Regions from separate parts of the Homo sapiens genome. Here region 1 is linked to region 2. The links are contacts of gene promoters, found by promoter capture Hi-C in human tissues and cell types (Jung and others, 2019). All regions are on one chromosome and are shown on one strand. Each heading gives the region's core, a stretch centred on a gene start or on the middle of the fragment in contact. The rest is flanking DNA. Distances are from core to core; before and after follow the strand shown. Region 1 overlaps YEATS2 (YEATS domain containing 2). Region 2 holds the start of MAP6D1 (MAP6 domain containing 1).

What was found. The method cuts DNA at HindIII sites, captures the fragments that hold promoters and counts their contacts. A contact is called where the count stands out against the background at its distance.
Region 1: a contact is called between a fragment that was not itself captured here and the fragment with the promoter of MAP6D1 in region 2, in 1 of the 25 tissues and cell types used here (pancreas).

Annotation. Positions count from the first base shown.
Region 1 is chr3:183,767,490-183,770,189 of GRCh38, reverse strand. The region is part of intron 15 of YEATS2 (YEATS domain containing 2); the gene reads right to left. Among named protein-coding and RNA genes, the nearest start is that of YEATS2-AS1, 42 kb to the left of the region's middle. The HindIII fragment of the contact is 8,730 bases long and covers 1-2,700 here.
Region 2 is chr3:183,824,197-183,826,896 of GRCh38, reverse strand. It overlaps MAP6D1 (MAP6 domain containing 1), which reads left to right and starts at 1,320. Exons shown (of 3, transcript NM_024871.4): 1 at 1,320-1,750. The coding sequence starts at 1,350. It also overlaps a transcript of PARL not described here. RefSeq lists silencers at 1,113-1,462, 1,523-1,592, 1,613-1,742. The HindIII fragment of the contact is 8,198 bases long and covers 1-2,700 here.

The sequences.
Region 1 (2,700 bases), core at 4-2,503, 57 kb after region 2:
GTCTTGATCTCCTGACCTCGTGATCCGCCCGCCTCGGCCTCCCAAAGTGCTGGGATTACAGGTGTGAGCCACCGCACCCGGCCAGAAGTTTTAAATTAAAATATTACTATACCATACACGGTTTCTGTTCAAAGACTGTGAGTTCAGTAAAATACATTTACCATGCAGTTGGATAATATAGCTGATATAAAGAAAACAGTCCCTTGGCTGGGTATGGTGGCTCGCGCCTGTAATCCCAGCACTTTAGGAGGCTGAGGCGGGCGGATCACAAGGTCAAGAGATTGAGACTGTCCTGGCCAACATGGTGAAACCTCATCTCTACTAAAATTACAAGGAATGAGCTGGGCGTGGTGGTGGGCACCCCAGCTACTCGGGAGGCTGAGGCAGCAGAATCGCTTGAACCTGGGAGTCGGAGGTTGCAGTGAGCTGAGATCGTGCCACTGCACTCTAGCCTGGCGACAGAGCAAGACTCTGTCTAAACAATAAATAAATAAAATGAAAACAGTCCCTTAATCAAATATTATAAACTATAGCGTCACAAAGAGGAAACAGTGCAGGTTTCGGTAAGCAGACAGATCTGGTTTTCCAGGTTAGTTATTTTTAGTTAGTAGCTAGGTAAGTTATTTAACCTCTCTTGAGTTTTACCATCAATCCCCTCATCTATAAAATATGGGTAACATTTACCCTCCGAATCATGAAGCAAAATGAGAAAAAGTATATAGGATGCCTAGCTAACATGACAGCTGTTGCTGCTCATCACAACACTTCAACTGAAGAATAATAATCCACAAGGGGATGTGGAGACCAGCAAAGGACAGCCAAAGGACAGACATTTGTGGCTGTCTTCCGCATTCGGCCAAGGCAGAGACCTTGATCTTAACCTCTGGATTCAGCAGGTGAAACAAATTAATCTTGAGTGAATTATACAACATGGGGATCCGCCTGCTACTTTAAAATATTCCAGGGAGATAAATTAAGATGAGTAAAATGCTGGTAATTGTTAAAACTGGGTAATAGGCATGTGGGATTCATCACACTCTTCTCCCTACTTTTCTGTATGTTTAAGGAGAGAAGAAAAGAAGAAACAGAATAAAAGAACCAATTTTAAAAAGCAAGTTAACCTAGAATGAAGACAAGAAATCACCCCCGGCTCTCCTGGTTTGGTTGAAATACCCCTTATTACCCACATCTACATCTCTGTTTTGTTGTTGTTTTTTGAGACGGAGTTTTGCTCTTGTTGCCCAGGCTGGAGTGCGGTGGCACGATCTCAGCTCACCGCAACCTCCGCCTCCTGGGTTCAAGCAATTCTCCTGCCTTTGCCTCCTGAGTAGCTGGGATTATGGGCACACGCCACCACACCTGGCTAATTTTGTATTTTTAGTAGAGACGGGGTTTCTCCATGCTGGTCAGGCTGATCTTGAACTCCCGACCTCAGGCGATCTACCTGTCTCGGCCTCCCAAAGTGCTGAGATTACAGGCACCTGGCCTTCATCTGTGTTCTAACTGCATGAACTTCATTCTGCAGGGGACCTGTAGAGTTTCTGTAGCCACAGAGCAGGGCAGGGTCATCCTCCCAGTGATGTGGAAATACGGAAACCCTTCTTACTGATCAAGAACTTTTCTGTATATTTATGAAAGAAAAAAAAAACCCTTCTTAATGTAGCAAAACTTTTTGGGAGTGTGGCAGAAACTGCTAGTTGAACCCCAATATCTATTATTTCCTTCTCCTCTCATAGTAACAGAGCCCCCAGTTTTCAGCTGGGGCAATGGCCACATGGAATCACAACTCTATTTCCCAGCCCTCCCAGACCTAGGCGTGGCCATTTGCTTTCTGGCTAACGGGATGTGTGCAGAAGTGAGAGCGACTTTCGGGCTCTGTCTGCCCTCAGCTCTCCCTCCCCCTGCTCCCTTCCTCTTGGCAAGAAGCGTGAACGTGGAGGTATGAGATGAAGTGTTTTCTTAGTCCACAAGCCGAAAGCCAAATTTTGAGAATGTCAGAGCAAAAAAAGGAAAGCCAGGGATCTAGATTCTCGATGACTGTATGAGAAATAAACTTACTTAAAGTTCTGGTGTTCAGATTTCTCTGTTGCAGTAGTTGAACTTTTCTCTTAACTAAGATAGCAGTCTTCAAACCTCCCAAACATATCAAATAACCTATTTCACAAGTTAAATTACACAGAATCTACTTTTATGTTCCTAAACAAAGAAAGCAAATAACTTAGGGAAAACAATACACACATTTTTAGACCTACTTCAATTTCTTTCCCCACATTACATGCACCTGACTTGCTTTTCCTTTCTTGTGCCAAGTGCTTCAGAGTTTTCAGGATATGACACGTAATTTCTCCAAGAACCCAGTAAAACCTGGTATCCTGCCGGGCGTGGTGGCTCATGCCTGTAATCCCAGCACTTTGGGAGGCCGAGGTGGGCGGATCATTAGAGGTCAGGAGTTTGAGACCAGCGTGATGAACATGGTAAAACCCCGTCTCTATTAAAAAATAAAAAAAATGGCCGGGCACAATGGCTCACACCTGTAATCCTAGCACTTCAGGAGGCCAAGGCGGGCAGATCACAAGGTCAGAAGTTTGAGACCAGTGTGGCCAACATAGTGAAACCCTGTCTCTACTAAAAATACAAAAAAATTAGCTAGGCATGGTGGTGGGTGCCTGTAATCCCAGCTACTTGGGAGGCTGAGTCAAG
Region 2 (2,700 bases), core at 71-2,570:
CTGTTGTTTGATCAATGAAGTAATAAAAAGAGAGCTGCTCTCTTTTCCTGCGAGATGGAGAATTTTAGTCCCAAGCGCCATCTGCCAGGCTGGCTAACCCAGGGCCGTGGCGGACAGTCCACAAAGAGTTCACTCTGACCCGGCCCCTGTGTGTCATTTTCCAGGATCTCCCTCTACACCTGGCGCCTCGCCTGCTGCCTGCTGGGACATGGCCTGGCCTGCTCAGCTGACCTGCTGCCACTTCTAGGCAGCCGTCATGTCACTTTGCTACAACTTCAAGCTAAGACAGGCAATGTTTTGGGAGATGAATCTGTTTTCTGACTGGCCAGGGATGTGCTGCAGTCCCCTCCCAGGCGCAGACTGGATACCTTCCAAGTACAACCTTGAAATGGAGCTCTGGGTAATTAATGCTGTCTCAGTAGTGTTATTAGTAATTGGTCTGCAGTGTATACCGAGAGCATGTGTCAAATATTCAGAAAAGCGTTTGTGGGTGGTCAGGGAGTTGTTTGAGACGGTGTCCTGCATTGAACAGACCTGCCTTTACGCTGGAGGATCCCTCAACAGCTCTGCCTGAAAACAGCCATGCATGCACAGGAGGAAAGGAACTTGATAGCCTTGTGGCCAGTTCTGTGGCCGCTTTATCAAACTAAAGCTTTTGCAAATGGCCATGCTTTAAAATTAGGAATTTCAGAACCCAGGGAAAGGTCGATTGGTGGCTAATGCCAATTCTAATGAAAAGTGGATTGGTTGTCACAAATGTAGACTAGCATCCTAAAGGCAAATAGGCGGCGACTCACAGGCTGACTGAAACACGTGTTCTCCGGGAAGCAGGGCCCCGAGTCTTCTCTGACACCCTCATTGCTGCACCTGCCCCTGTGCCCGCGGAGTCCATGCGGTGCAGCCTGGCACAAATGCAGCAGTCGCTGGGCGTCCCGAGGCCACATGGAGAACCTCCCGGCTGGCGGACTGCTCCCAGCTGCGACCATCGGGCCCTTGGCCTCTGCGAAGCCGGGGCCATTTATAAGATGACACTGAGGGAACTTTGGATTCAATTCTGAGGCATTCTTCGAGATGGACACTTGTAAATGAATGCAGGCGGTTTCCGGTGCCCCCTGGCGACGGTGCAGCCTTTCCCCCATCCGCGCTCCCTCCAGCTCCAGCCGTGCGCAGCCGGCCCCGGCCAAGTGGGGCTGCCGCCGAGTGCGCCCCCTCCCGGGACGCCCACCCTCGTGCCGGGGGGCGGTGCTGCGGCGGCGCGGGGCGGGCCGCGGGGGCGGGGACGCTGGGCGCAGGAGGCGCGGCCGGGAGCGCCGCGCGCCGGGAGCGGGGCGGCGGGCGCCGGGGCTGGCATGGCGTGGCCCTGTATCAGCCGCCTGTGCTGCCTGGCGCGGCGCTGGAACCAGCTGGACCGCTCCGACGTGGCGGTGCCGCTCACTCTGCACGGCTACTCGGACCTCGACAGCGAGGAGCCGGGCACGGGCGGCGCCGCCTCGCGCAGGGGCCAGCCTCCCGCGGGCGCCCGGGATTCCGGCCGGGACGTGCCGCTCACTCAGTACCAGCGGGACTTCGGCTTGTGGACCACGCCCGCCGGGCCCAAGGATCCGCCGCCGGGGCGCGGACCGGGGGCGGGCGGCCGCAGGGGCAAATCCTCCGCGCAGTCCTCCGCGCCACCTGCGCCCGGCGCCCGCGGGGTCTACGTGCTGCCCATCGGCGACGCGGACGCGGCTGCAGCAGTGACCACGTCGTACAGGTATGGGCTGGGTAGGGACCGCAACGAGTCCCCACCCTGTGGTGGGAGGACGCGGAGGCCCGGAGCCAGAGGGATGGGGTGGGCGGCAGAGCGGAGGCGCCTGGAGCCCGGATCCCACGCGACCTCGGAGCTGCCGGCGGCCTCAGAGGTCACCCCCGTTTGGTCCGTGGGCACTGCAGGCGGCGCCTTCGCTGCTCCATGCCCGGACTCAGTGCTCGAGCACCCCCGTGCCGGGAGCGCACCGCTGCCCTCGCAGCCGCCCTCCTGGGGGCAGCCGTCAGAATGGCCTGCCTTCAGCCGAGTTGGAACCGGCCTCCCTTTAACTCCCACCGCCGGGCCTAGCCGTGCGAGGGGTGCGCGCAGGCCATGTCCCCCAGCTCTCTCCGGTCACTGCCTAGTGTGCGGGCGTTGGTGGTGAGGACCGAGCGCAGGGTCCCGTGTGGGTGAGCCCTTCAGAGTCCCACTGTGACAGGGGCTTTCAGGGAGAACGGGTCCGCGGGCCCTCCCCACCTCCCAGCCCAGCTCTGCTCCTGGACAGCCGAGGGCTTTCTCCCTTTTTTCCTCTTACCACAAAAGTAATTCATACTGTAGAAAAATGGGAAAGTACAGAAATTACAACAAAATACGTATCTCCTTGATCCCTCCCCAGACGAGTTCTTTCTACTCCGTAATGTGCATTTGGTGCATATGCACTGATATATTTTTACGTGGTTAGATTCTTACTGTACACTTTTTTCACCAGTTGTAGAAGTCTGTCCGTGTTACTACATGTTCTGCAACATGAATTTTAATAAACGTGCAGTATTTTATCCTATGGATATGCCTTTATATCTTCAAGTTTTATTTATCTACTTCCTTACCATTGACTATTTAGGGTGTTTCTAATGTGGGACTATTAAAAGCACTACTTTTCCTTTGATGCAGCTATTTCACTACTAGGAATTTTCCCT